Linked DNA regions of Homo sapiens: region 2 is linked to region 1. The links are contacts of gene promoters, found by promoter capture Hi-C in blood cells and fetal thymus (Javierre and others, 2016). All regions are on one chromosome and are shown on one strand. Each heading gives the region's core, a stretch centred on a gene start or on the middle of the fragment in contact. The rest is flanking DNA. Distances are from core to core; before and after follow the strand shown. Region 1 holds the start of SEL1L (SEL1L adaptor subunit of SYVN1 ubiquitin ligase). Region 2 overlaps LINC02328 (long intergenic non-protein coding RNA 2328).

Region 1 (7,242 bases), core at 72-2,571:
ACTCAGAGGGAACATTGTTAGTGACAGAAATGGTGATGTAGCTGAAAAGACAAGTTTTTGGAGGAGATAATTCTTTCCTTCATCTCCTCCGATGTGAATGAGAAACAGTGGTTGGTTTTTTACCATCTTCCTGAAAATAAAAGGCTGTATCTCAAAAAACAAAAAACAAAAAACAAAAAAAAAAAGGAAGGAAGACAAATGCCCAGAAGTGTTAAGACACATGGCCAGCAGAGACTTTTCCAAAGTCCTTCACTTGGCTGGACTAGGTTCTAGGCCTTAGAGCTGACTGTGGGTGGATGACAGGGAAAGCAGAATGACACGGTTTGAGAAAAGAAAGGGCAGGCACACCAAGTCACTGCTCTGCTACTCAGTTGGAACATGCCTGGATTTCGTGCTTATTACATAGAGTATTTCCGTGCCTGCGATGCAATCACTATCACCTCTACCTCCACACACGTGAACCTGGTCTCCTGACTTTAGTTAGGAAAGAAGAGAACAATGCAACTCACAAGAGGAGAAGGATGAGGACAAGTGTTTAAAATAATTTTTCAAAGCTGTTGGCACATTTTCTTTATGATTATTGTCTGGTGAACCTAGTGAAAATAAATACTGTATTGAGATAATCTGTGCCGAGCGGATTTATTTCCTTTTGTTTTGTCGGAGAAAGGAGGACAGGTACTGAGTTGCACCCTGGTTTCCGTACTTCACGGTACTGTTTTATCTAAGTTTTAAAAAACACCTCAAATTCAACTAGCTGTGGCATTTTTCTCAGTGCTCTTATCACTATGCCCAATTTAAATTTTTTAAATAAAACAGGAAAAGATGCTAAACACATTACAAGTTCTTAAAATTATTCCTTAATATTTATTTTGGGTCAATTTAAAAAGGCTTGTGAATCCATAGCCTTGAGTTAATATTTAGCCCAGGTGTTAGTTAAATTCTAACTTCAACAGTCACCCGCACTTGTAAATCTTGCCCTACGATGGACTACGTTTCCCAAGAGCACCCCCCGAGTTAATCACATGAAGCGCATTCTGGGAATTGTAGTCTCGGATGAGCCTCTTTCTCCCAGTCTTGGACTCACGCGCTGATTCCGGTTGAACCCAGGGGCTACCAATTAGCTGGGGCCATGTCCGTGAGTCGTGGTCCAACCGAGAAAGCTGGTGTGGGAGCTTCGTACAATGATTGGCCAATGAATGACCCCCGGGGCGGAGCAATGGGGGTGGGCGGGGAGACCATGGTGATTGGACCAGAAGCCCGCGACGGCGGGCGGGGATTGGCTGCGCGCTGGGTCAGGGAAGCCTGGGAAGGGGCGGAGGAAGGAGACTAGAGCAGGAAGAGCAGCGGCGAGGCGGCGGTGGTGGCTGAGTCCGTGGTGGCAGAGGCGAAGGCGACAGCTCTAGGGGTTGGCACCGGCCCCGAGAGGAGGATGCGGGTCCGGATAGGGCTGACGCTGCTGCTGTGTGCGGTGCTGCTGAGCTTGGCCTCGGCGTCCTCGGGTCAGTATCCGCCCCCTCGGGCTGAAGGCCCAGAGCCTCCGCCCCCCAGCCTCTACAGCCGGCGGGGCCGTGGGGACTCCAGGCTCGGGACCCCGTTCTCCCTGGGCACATCTCGCACTGGGCTGTCACTCGCTCTTTGGCTTTGCTTGGCCTGCGCCAAAGGGGCTATTTAGGAAGGTGGAGTGGGGTGGAAAAAGAAGGGGCGGTCACCCTGCCCACACCTCTCTCCCACGTAACAAACTTTGCGCGACTCTTCTCACGAACGCGGAATTGACTCCAAAGGAATGAATCCTGATACAGGAGCCCGAGTGGAGCTTCCTCGACCCTGGGGTAGAGGAAGGGTCTGGTCTAGAACTCTGGGCTTGGGAATTGTAAGTTAAATAATTGACAAACCTGGAGCTGTCACTTTGGGGCAGAGGAGGATCCATCCAGACCAGGATGTTGACAGTAGTTTGCTTAACACCTGAGATGGTCCCTGGTCTGTCTGTTTAAAAACGAAGACTTTTGATCTCATCGTAGCCACTTTTTACTTTTTTGAAACCTTCCTGAGAAAGCGGTGACCTGTCACAGTGTTTCTGAGTTGCCCCATGTTTGTTGACAGTCATTTTATGATGTTTGGGAAAATCTTGGTTCTTATAAGATGCGTTTTATATAGATACAGAAATTTGTGTGCTTTTGAATTGATTTTCCAGTTAGCTAATGTTTATTCTGGTTCTGCTTTTTTCCCCCTTTTTTAATGTTTTAATCTGCCTACATTTGAAAATTTCCATTTTGAGAGTGTTCATGAAAACTTCGTGTTTCTAAGTGTTGATAAATAAAAATTAGTACAGTAAAACTTTGGAATTTTAATCAGTTTCAGTTAACAGGACAGGTGTTCTGTGGCTTGACGTTTTGGGGGGACAACACGGAGTATAAATGTCAGCTTTTTCTTTTTTTAATAAATGTCAGCTTTTTTTTAACAGAAAATTTCCCAGATGGTTATCTGAATCCCCAAATTACCTGTCCTAGTTGTAAATCAATGCCATAACGTCATTCTGCTTCTAAAATAAGAGGCTTAAACCTAAATTCTATCCATGATGTGGTTTGAGATACCATTTCAAAAGCACCAACCCTATGCTAATTACTTTACTGCCAACATCATTCTTTCAGGTCCACTCCCCTCCCTCCAGTAGTAGTGATGGTTTGAGTTAATGACCAGATCTTTAGACTATACTTAACTCTCGAAGCACTTTTAGCAGTTATTTAATATTTGATCAAAAAGCATGAAATGAAGCTGTTGAGCTTAATGAGTAGAGTACCTGCTGGACCATGGACCTCCTGCATCAGAATTCCTCTTATGGGTTTGTTAAACATTGGGTTTTAGGTCTGGAACAGCTCAGGTATACATAGATTAACAATCTCCATGAGGGATTCTTCACACTAAAGAGAACTACAGTAATGAAAGAGCACGGTGTGTATCCCTCTGAATTTAATTGGCAGAGTTTAAAGAAAATTAAAGCATAGGAATTGTGCTGTCTGTCTTTGACTGCATTTTATATACTTAGAGCTCCATGCCAGTGGAAAAGATATTTGAAGATCAACAGTTGGGGCTTTCAGGATGTTGTAATAAAAGACTTAACACTGATATATTAAATCCTTGGGTTGTATTGATGTAGGTAGAGGACTGTATTCAAGAAATGTCTGCTCTGATTTCCATCATAGTTAAAGCTGTGCCACAACATTTCAATGGTAAAGGCAGAAGCCTTAGCCAGAACTAAAACAATGTAGATGTGCATGCTAAAAGGTAATAAAGGCAGTGCTGTGCTCACATGAAGTTCATATATCATAAAACACCTGTGCGGGCCCAGCTCATACCTGTAATCCCAGCACTTTGGGAGGCTGAAGTGGAAGGATCACTTGAGCCCAGGAGTTCAAGACCAACCTGGGCAACATGGCGAAACCCCATCTCTACGTAACTCCAGGTGTGATGGTGCACACGTGTAGTTCCAGCTACTCGGGAGGCTGAGGTGGCAGGATGGAGTGAGCCCCAGGAGGTTGAGGCTGCACTGAGCTGTGATTATGCCACTGCACTCCAGCCTGGACAATAGAGCGAGACCCTGTCTCAAAAAAAAAGAAAAAAAAACAACCCTGTGTTAAATAAAGTTGTGTAAATTAAGCTATGGATTTTCAATTGTGATTTTCATTCACAGGGTTTCGGCCTCAAAGTTTAAAGTTTTACTCCAGTATTAAAATCAAGTTTTTGGTTATAATTTTGTGTTTGAACATTAGTGGTTACCCAGGGCAGGTCGCATCTCTCCAGGTGGAGTATGGTCAGCCAACAAAGAGAATCTTGATTCTATTGCTGTTGATAGCTGTTAGCTAGTATCATGTTTTAGAAGCATGTAAAAATATGATATAGTCACATGCTACATAATGACATTTTGGTCAACAATGAACCCCATGTAAGATGGTGGCCCTGTAAGAATATAATGGAGCTGAAAAATTCCTGTCACCTAGTGACATTGTAGCCATTGGAACATGGTAGCACACTTTTTAAAAAATAAATTTAGTGTAGTTTAAGTGTACAGTGTTTACAATAGTGTATAGTAACATCCTAGGCTTCACATTCACTCACTCACTCACCCACAGCAACTCTTAATCCTGCAAGTTCCATTTATGGTAAGTGCCCTAGACAGGTATATGTTTTGTAATCTTTTACACCATATTTTCACTGTAGCTTTTCTATGTTTAGCTATGTTTATGTACACAAATACTTACTGTTATGTTACAGTTGCCTACAGTAGTCTGTATAGTCACATGCTGTACAGATTTGTAGCTTAGGAACAACAGGCTACACTATGTAGCCCAGGTATGTAGAAGGCTATCCCATTTAGGTTTAAGTATACAAAAAGGAAATCGCCCAGTGATACACTTTTCAGAACATATCCTCGTCATTGACACATGGCTAATATTAGAAACATTTTCTCTTTTCTATTAATAAATTTAAAGGAGGACACTAAAAAGATATTTCTTCATTTTCTCAGGATAATAGTGAAAAGGTTATAATTTTTCTCACAAATGCATGCTTTCTTATTTTTGGCAGAAGAGGCAAATGGCTTAACCTTTTTTTTTCTTTGTGCCAAGCAGTGTTAGTCATTTTAGTTAGGTCCACTGCCAGGTATTTCAGGTAATAATTATAAATTCAGAGAGTAGTTTTCAGACAGCAGAGGATGTTTAATTTCACTGTTTTGGTCGTTCCTTAAAATATTGTGAGTCAGCGGGACAGAGGTGTTACCCCTTTTGACAGATTGAGAAACAGAGGCTGAGCAAGCTTTTGTTACTGAACCATGTGTCAGAATTAACATGTGATGAAGCCAGGTTCCAGACCTAGCTCTCCAGGTCTCAGAATTGAAGAAATTTAGAATCGAGAGTATCTTAGGATCTGTACCAATTTAGAGCTAAAGCAGAGAACAGGATATCTGGTCTGTTTTCACCAAACTATTTAGACTTTCTGTGTTTAAAGGTTATCAGTCTGTTTAATTTACGTGATGAATGGAAAAATGATTTTGTAGTGATCACTTTTCCCTGAAAGCATATCTCTGGTACTTTGCAGTTTTGTTAGCTAATACAATAAAAATAAAAACTGGTCCTTTTCAAAGGAAGGTGTACAGTTAATAAAATAATATGAACCATTTGGATGTGATGCTGATGAGCGAGAAGCGCATAACTTAATCCTTTTGCATTTTTTTCTTGTTGCTTGATATCTGTGTTCTGATGAAAACATTACTGTTTGCTTTTTATTTATGCATAACTTCAGTCTCTTTAATCCTTACCTGAATACTACTTATCAGAAGTTCCTAGGTTATAAACAACTCTTTAAAAAGTGTTGTGTGAATGTTTATATCAGTTTGAAAAAGAAAATAGCTTATGCTTTGAGACTACCATCTGGAGTAGGCTTTCCCAGTTTAGTAACTGAGAATTATCTTATTCACCAGTAATATTAGCATATAGTCCAGGTTGCGAAGAGAGAGGGAGAGAAAGAGAAGCATGATGCAATTCACATGAAATAACTCTGATGTTACAAATCATGTTTCTTGGAGTTTGAAAACACGTTTTGCTACTCTAATGCCTAACAGCTTGTGCTGTGTGAAATGTACATGTCTTTAAGTGTATTTACAGATGTGTCCATATGATTCACCTGTTAGCTACCTATGTAACCTGTTGTGGTGAGGTACTAAATGTAGCAATGTAGTGATAGTGATTTAGAGTTCCAGCTAATCTAAAGTTTCATTCAGTATTTGGGGGTATTTCATATATGTTTAAACATTTAATATCTGTTTTGATATATTAACTAGTTGAAGTTTGTGATTAATTACATATACTTACAGTACAACTTTGATATATTATAGAGATGGGTTTTTTAAATTTATCTAAAGATTTGCTGAGAATGGAATTTGAACCACATGTTAGAAATTGGGCTTTGGGTAATACTTGTGAAGAAGTTAGCATGAAGGACAATTGTTAATTAACTGACATCATTGCCTAATGTTATGGGCGCTGTGGGACTAATATGTGGCATACCCTTCTCTCCACCTGCCAGAAGTAAAACATACTTTGAAGGTAATCTAAAAGTAGGTGAATATGAATAGTAGCTGTAATTTAAATTTTCTTTGACTTGACAGCACTTTCATATATGGCAAAACCTCACTAATGGACTAGTTTCCTCAAATATTCGAAAGAAATATTGTGAGGTAGTGTCTTGTATTTTGTGCATAATTGAGTTGGTTATACTTCTTAGTCTTAACTCAGTACTTTGATAACAAACTCTAACACAGGTTTTTTGTTATATTTTAGAGTTGCAAATTACAAATGATATTTAGGATATAGCCATATGAAGTAAAGTATAAATGACAACTATAGTAGCAAATTTTCTAGTAAAAAATGACATGGTCTTACAGGGTTTTGTCTACTGGTTAATTTCTCATACAGCTTATGGAGCAGGTAAAACTGAAACTCACTCCTGAATAAAATCAGGTAATTTTAAGAGCAAGAGGGAAACTTAAAGATGATCTGACAGATTCGCTGTTTTAAACTGGCAAGGAATACAAAAATCAAGCATTTCCATCTGAACATTGAGTTGTTGCATGTGTTTATGTAAGAGCAGGAAGAAGAGTAACAAGCAGCCAGAAAAGTAATAGTCAGAAAACATGGAAAAAGTAACAGAAGGAAAATTAATGTAATCAGACAACACCAAAGCAGGCTGTGTGAATGTGTAAGCAAGGTGTAACCGGTGGCTGTTTTTCATTGTTTAATGTAAGTTATTGATTTCTTACTACATAGCTCTCAATTGAGTGAATATATGATAGGACCATGCTGCTTTTTACCTGCATCTGGTTATCTCTGAGTAGAGTAGAACACAAATCCTAAATATAATTGTTTTGCAACTCTGCTATCAAATAATAATTCTTAGTTTCCATCCTTACTATAGTAGTAAACAATACAAATACTAATGAGCACTAAAATGGGCTACTCTAACTCAAGATCCTGAGCAGACAAACAGAATAGGTGGAAGCCCGGAGTATGAAATTAGAGATTTATTTTTATGAACTTAGTAACTCATTCTCAGAAATAGACTAAATAGACCCACAAGAATTGGATGGAATGTGAAGAAATACCTGTTTTTGTTGGTGGAGGCTGTTGGTCTTCCTACCTTTGTAACAGATGGAGCTAATGTCTTTTCTGGAGAAAGAGAGAAACTAAACCC
Region 2 (6,760 bases), core at 1,590-4,089, 4.4 Mb before region 1:
ATCAAAAGGAAATACTAGAAATAGGAAAATACTTAACAGGAAAAAGAAGAGGTGCCTTTTATTGCTCATTAGTAGACTCCAAATAACTCAGAAAAGAATCAGCGAGGTTAAAAATAGGCTGTTAGAGAGAATTCTCAAAATATATGCGAAGGGAAAAGTAGTACAAAAAAAGACAGAACATTCAAAAATTGTAATAAAAGAAAAACCAAAAACAAGCTAAAAATAAATTGCAGTATAATTTTAAAAGGCATCATATGCATATTATTTGAAGGAAAAGAAAGAGAATGAAGGAATAAGATTTGAAGTAATAATGACCAAGAAATCTAAAACATTAACGGCAAACACTAAGCCACAAATCAAGGACATTCAAAAAACAAAAAGCAGGAAAAATAAATAAATAAATGCACACACACACACACACACACACACACACACACACACACATACACACTCCTCCAAAGCATATAAAATTCAAACTGCAGAAAACTAAAGATAGGAAGAACAACTTGAAAGTAGCCAGATCTAAAACAAAAACAAAAAACTTACCTATAGAGGAACAATTTTAAGGATAAAAGCAGGCTTATCGAAAATCACACAAGCAAGAAGAGGGTAAAGTGAAATACTTAAAATATTTAAAGAAACTACCAAACTAAAATTCTATAATCAGCAAAATTATCCTTGAAGAGTGAAGAAGAAATAAAGAATTTTATTGGCAGCAGAACTTCCTGCATGAAATGTTAAAAGATGTTCTTCAAACAGAAGGAAATGCTATGTCAGAAATGTGTATCTAGAAAAGATAGGAATAAATAAATAAAGATAAAATAAAATATTTTGTTTTACTTTTTCTTAAATGACCAAAAAAGTAACTATTTGTTTAAAGTAATAATAACAATTTATTTGGTGATTCAAGCATATGAATAAAAGAAATGAATGCTAGCAACATCATAAGGAATGGAAAGAAGAATCAAAAATACTTATTAAAAAATAAGAATAATATGAAGTTTAATCTTAGATAACAGGTGCAGTCAAAACTACAAGTCAATAACAGAAATTTAGCTGAGAAATTTCCAAGTATCTGAAAATTATATAATATACTTCTAAATACCATATGGGTCAAATAAAAAGTCTCAAGAGAACATTTACATAGTTTAAAATAAAGGAAAATTAAAATGCAATTATTAAACTTGAGAATGCAGTGAAAATAGTGCTTCAAAATTCATAGAATTAAATGCATATCTTGGAATAGAGGAAATATCTACAATCAATAACCTTTCTACTATAAGAAACCATAGAAATAAGGGCAACTTAACCTAAAACAAGCAGAATAAAAGAATTAATAAAGATTAGAGCAGAAGTAACAGAAATCAAAAGGAGAGAAATAATAGATAAAAATCAAACAAACCAAAATATTTTTCTTTGCAAAGTTCAGTAAAGTTGACAAAATTATAGCCAGGCTAACCAAGATAAAAAAGAGAAGACAGAAATTATCAATATCAGAAATAAAAGAGTCATTACTACTGAACCCATGGACATGAAAAGAATAAAAAAAAGATTATAATGAACAATGTTATGCTAACATATTTGATAACAAAGCTTAAATAGCTAAACCTCCTGAAAGACAAACTATCAAAATTTATACAAAGGAAAATGAGAATTGTCCTGTATTTATTAAATAAATTCAATCAATATTTCATAACTTTAAAAAAAGAAAGCCTGAGAAACAGATGGTTTCAGTTAATGAATTCTACCAAACACTTAGGAAACAAATAATGCCGTTTCTCCACAACAGAAACAGAAGGGCCACTTCCTAACTTATTACATAATATCAGCATTTCCCTCCTACCAAAAGCAGATAAAGACATTAAGAGAAAAGAAAACTACTGACCAATATCCTTTAAGAACAGAAGCAAAATTTCTCAACTAAATAATAACAAATTGAAGAGAATGTATAAAAACAGTAATACACTACAACCCAGAAAGTTTATTTCAAGTATGCAAGGTTAACTCACATTCAAAAAAATCAACTAATGTAACAGACCCAGAAAAATTATGTGCCTGTATCAATTGAAACGAAAAAATTATGTGACAGAATCCATGCCCATTCAGCATGAAAACACACATCAAAGTAGGAATAGAGAGGGCCTTCCTTAATTTGGTGTTTTAAAATTACAAAACCTCCTACCGCTAGCATCATACTTTGTGGTGGGTGTCTGGAAAATTTTTCCTTAAGATCAGGAACAGACAAGGATGTTTTGTCATTACTTTTCAATTTTGTATTGGAAATACTAATTGATACAAAAGAGTAAGAAAAATAAATAAAAGGTATACAAATTGGAAAAAAAGAAATAAAACTGTCTTAATACACAGATGACATGATTTTCTATGTGGAAAATCAAAGCAACTATGAACAGCAGCAACTTAGAATAAATAGGCAAGTGGCTGGGCTCAGTGGCTCACGCTTGTAATCCCAGCAATTTGGAAGGCCGAGGCAGGTGGATCACCTGAGGTCAGGAGTTCGAGACCAAACTGGCCAACCTGGTGAAATCCCATCTCTGTTAAAAATACAAAAGTTATCCAGGCTTGGTGGCATGCGCCTGTACTCTCAGCTACTCAGGAAGCTGAGGCAAGAGATTTGTTTGAACCCAAAGGCGGAGGCTGCAGTGAGAATTAATAGGCAATTATAGAAGTTCACAAGATGCAAGGTTATTACACAAACGTCAAGTCCATGTTTACATACAAGCAAAGAACAATTGGGATTTATAATTTTTTTTAAAAAGAGGCATTTATTATAGCCTCCCCCAAACTGAAACAATGAAGTATTCACATACAAATATAACCATACATATATATTTAGGATCTATAGACCAAAAAACACAAAACAATGATGAAAAAATCAAAGAGTTGTGTAAATATATGGAGAGATGCCTCGTATTTACAAGTTTAAAGATTCAATATTCCCTTTTTTTTTTTTTCTCTTGAGACAGAGGTTCACTCTGTCACCTAGGCTGGTATGCAATGGCGTGACCTCGGTTCACTGCAACCTCCACTTCCCAGGTTCAAGCGATTCTCCTGCCTCAGCCTCCTGAGTAGCTGGGATTACACGCAGCCACCACCATGCCCAGATAATTTGTATTTTTTTAGTAGAGACAGGGTTTCACCATGTTGGTCAGGCTGGACTCGAACTCCTGACCCCGTGATCTGCCCGCCTCAGCCTCCCGAAGTGTTGAGATTACAGGTGTGAGCTACCACGCCTAGCCAAGATTCAATATTCTTAAGATGACAATTCTTCCAAACTCTCTCAAGTGATTCAATTGAATCTCAAAGAAAATCTTAGTACACTATTTTGGAGATATTGATAAGCTGATTCTAAAGTTTTATTGGGGTTCAGAAAATGACAACCCAAAATATGGCAGTTTGGCATGCTGAGTGCTTTGAAAAAAAAAATGTTGAAAGGCCTCAGAAATAAGCCTCAGGACCATGGCCTCTCTTTAATCTCTGCCCCCCCTTACCCCTTCCTTTATTGAAGCCTCAGGAAAACCCTTCTCTCAAGTTCCCTTATCTGATTAAAAAAGTTCCTCCAGAAGTCATGAAATTGTCTTAAAACACACTTCCTAGAAATTTCAACAGAAAACAGGGAAAGATTAACCACTGGAGAAGAGACTAGATCTGAAGTCATCACCACGCTCAGAGAGATTTTTCATCTAGACTTCTGAGGGAAGCTCCAAGAGATTACCAGGGACACTATCTGCATAATAAGACAAATTTTGTTCATGGTGAACATCTCATCACCTTCTCATAACTTGCCACCACCTCGCCCAGATCTCAAAAGAACTTTGTCTTTTTTTAGGCTAATTCATTTCTCTAAACATCATTGCCTATACTCTAAATTGCCTGCACTCCCATCTCCCTCTCCCCTATGAAGAGTGTTATTTAAGCTGCAGCCATCTGGCCCTTCTTTGAGACTCATATTTTCCATGGCTCCCATGCTTCTGCACATTAATAGAGTTATATGACTTTCTTTTGTTAATCTATCTATTGTCAGTTTTTTTCAGCAGCAAATCCTCAGAGAGCAGAAGAGAAGCTTTCCTTTTGCCTCTATAGGAAAAATTAAAAGGCAGAAGATCCAGAATAACCAACACAATCCTGCAGGAACAGAGGAATAATGTTGAGGATTCACACTATCTTATTTTAAGACTTACTGTAAAGCTACAATGATTAAGACCACATAGCATTGACCTCACCTCACCAAAAAAAAACCACATAGATCAGTGGAACAAAACAGAGAGCCTATAAATAGGCCCAAACATATATTCAAATGAATTTATAACTTCCCATTGGGTTCATCTTGCCCACTGCCTAGACAGGGCCAATTTACCAAGACAGGGGAATTACAATAGAGAAAAAGTAATTCACGCAGAGCCAGCTGTGCAGGAGACCAGAGCTTTATTACTACTCAAATCAGTCTCCCTGAGCATTCAGGGATCAGATGTTTTAAGGACAACTTGGTAGGCGGGGGGAAGCCAGTGAGCCAAGAGTGCTGATTGGTCAGGAAGGGGATAAAATCATAGGGAATTGAAGCTGTCCTCTTGGGCCAAGTCAGTTCCTGGCTGGAGCCACAAGATCAGATGAGCCAGTTAATTGATCTGGGTGGTGCCAGCTGATCCATCAAGGGGAGGGTCTGCAAATTTATCTCAATCACTGATCTTAAGAGCAGATTAGGGTTTTTTTGTTTTTTTTTTTTTTTTTTTTTCTGAGACCAAGTCTCACTCTGTCGCCCAGGCTGGAGTGCAGTGGCACGATCTTGGCTCACCACAAGCTCCACCTCCTGGGTTCACACCATTCTCCTGTCTCAGCCTCCCGAGTAGCTGGGACTACAGGTGCCTGCCGCCACACCCGGCTAATTTTTTTTTTTTTTTGTATTTTTAGTAGAGATGGGGTTTCACCATGTTAGCCAGGGTGGTCTCGATCTCCTGACCTCATGATCCACCCGCCTGGCCTCCCAAAGTGCTGGGATTACAGGCATGAGCCACCGCACCCAGCCCATAATTTCTAATCTTGTGGCTAATTTGTTAGTCCTACAAAGGCAGTCTAGTCCCCAGGCAAGAAGGAGGTTTGTCTGGGGAAAGGGCTGTTATTGTTTTTGTTTTAAACTATAAACTAAGTTCCTCCCAAAGTTAGTTCAGCCTACACCGAGGAATGAACAAGGACAGCTTGGAGGTTAGAAGAAAATGGAGTTGGTTAGGTCAAATATCTTTCACTGTCTCAGTTATAATTTTGCAATGGTAGTTTCCATTTTTCCCAAAGATTCAAAGTCAAGTCGATGAAGCAAATGTTGACATTTTAAACAAATAGTGCTGAAACAATTGGATACTCAAATTAAAACAAAAAGAACCTAGCACATATTCTACAGCTTTCACAAAAATTAAGTTGAAATTGATCAAGTACCTAACTTTAAAATGAAAAACTATAAAACATCTAAAAGAAAAAGAAAAGAGAAAATCTATGGAATCTTAGATTTGTCGATGAGTTTTTAAATACAGCACCAAAAGCACAATACATGAAAAAAAAGTAAGACTTTATTAGAATTATAAACATCTGCTCTTTGAGAAATATTAAGAGAGTTAAAGGACAAGCCATAGAATGAGAAAAAAATATTTGTGAAACACATATCTGGTAAAAAAAAAAAAAAGATAGAAAAAATAAAAATAATACATCCAAAATATACAGAGTGATGCTTAAAACTCAAGAATAAAATACAACTCAATTAAAAAGTAAGCAAAAGTTCTAAACAGATACCACCATATATATGGCAAATAAGTACATGTAAAGATGCTCAACATTGGTTGTCATTAGGTATATAAAAATTAAAATAATAATGAGATAACATTGTACATGTATTAAGAGGGCTAAAAACCAAAATATGCTAATACTAAATACTGGTTAGGATGAGGAGCAACAAGAACTCTCATTCATCACCGGAGAAAATGCAGAATGGTACAACCACTCTGATGGATAACTTAGCAGTTTCTAACAAAGCTAAACATATTTTTACCTTGTAATCCAGCAGCTGGGTTCTTAGATATTTACCTAGATGATTTGAGAAATTTTAACTACAGAAAACTTTCACATGAATGTTTATAGAATTTTATAAAATTATCACCAAAAACTGAAAGCTATCAAGATGTTCTTCAACACAGAAATGAATAAACTCTGGTATATCCATACAATGAAATACTATTCAGAGATAGGAAAGAATGAGCTATCAAGCTGTACAAGGACATAGATGATTCTTAAATGTGTATTGCTAAATGAAAGAAGCCAGCATGAAAGGACTGCTGCATACTGCATGATTATATTACATTCTGGAAAAAGCAAACTTATAGAGAGGGTAAAGATATCATTTGAAAGCAGCCTGGGCAAGATGGCAAGACCCTGGCTCTACAAAAAAAATTAAAAATTAGCTGGGCATGGTGGTGCACACCTGTAGTCCCAGCTACTTGGGAGGCTGAGGCAGGAGGATCCTTTGAGCCCAGGAAGTAAAGGTGGCAGTGAGCCATATATATGGTGCCACTGCACTCCAGACTGGGAAACGAAGCAAGACCCTGTCTCTAAAAATGAAAAAATAAAGAAAATAAAGATATCAGTGGTTTCTAGAGGTTCACAGACACAGATTTGAGTAGGTGAAGCACAAGAGATTGCCTAGAGTGGTGAAACTATTCTGTATGATACTGCAATGGTGGATAGATGATATTATGCATTT

Evidence for each region. The method cuts DNA at HindIII sites, captures the fragments that hold promoters and counts their contacts. A CHiCAGO score of 5 or more calls a contact.
Region 2: a contact is called between a fragment that was not itself captured here and the fragment with the promoter of SEL1L in region 1, in 2 of 17 cell types (activated CD4 T cells and M0 macrophages). The highest score is 8.6, in activated CD4 T cells.

Annotation. Positions count from the first base shown.
Region 1 is chr14:81,527,932-81,535,173 of GRCh38, reverse strand. It overlaps SEL1L (SEL1L adaptor subunit of SYVN1 ubiquitin ligase), which reads left to right and starts at 1,321. Exons shown (of 21, transcript NM_005065.6): 1 at 1,321-1,499. The coding sequence starts at 1,430. RefSeq lists a silencer at 1,198-1,317 and an enhancer at 1,034-1,533. The HindIII fragment of the contact is 11,079 bases long and covers 1-4,811 here.
Region 2 is chr14:85,935,711-85,942,470 of GRCh38, reverse strand. All of the region lies in intron 1 of LINC02328 (long intergenic non-protein coding RNA 2328), which reads right to left. Among named protein-coding and RNA genes, the nearest start is that of LINC02328, 4.4 kb to the right of the region's middle. The HindIII fragment of the contact is 2,488 bases long and covers 1,596-4,083 here.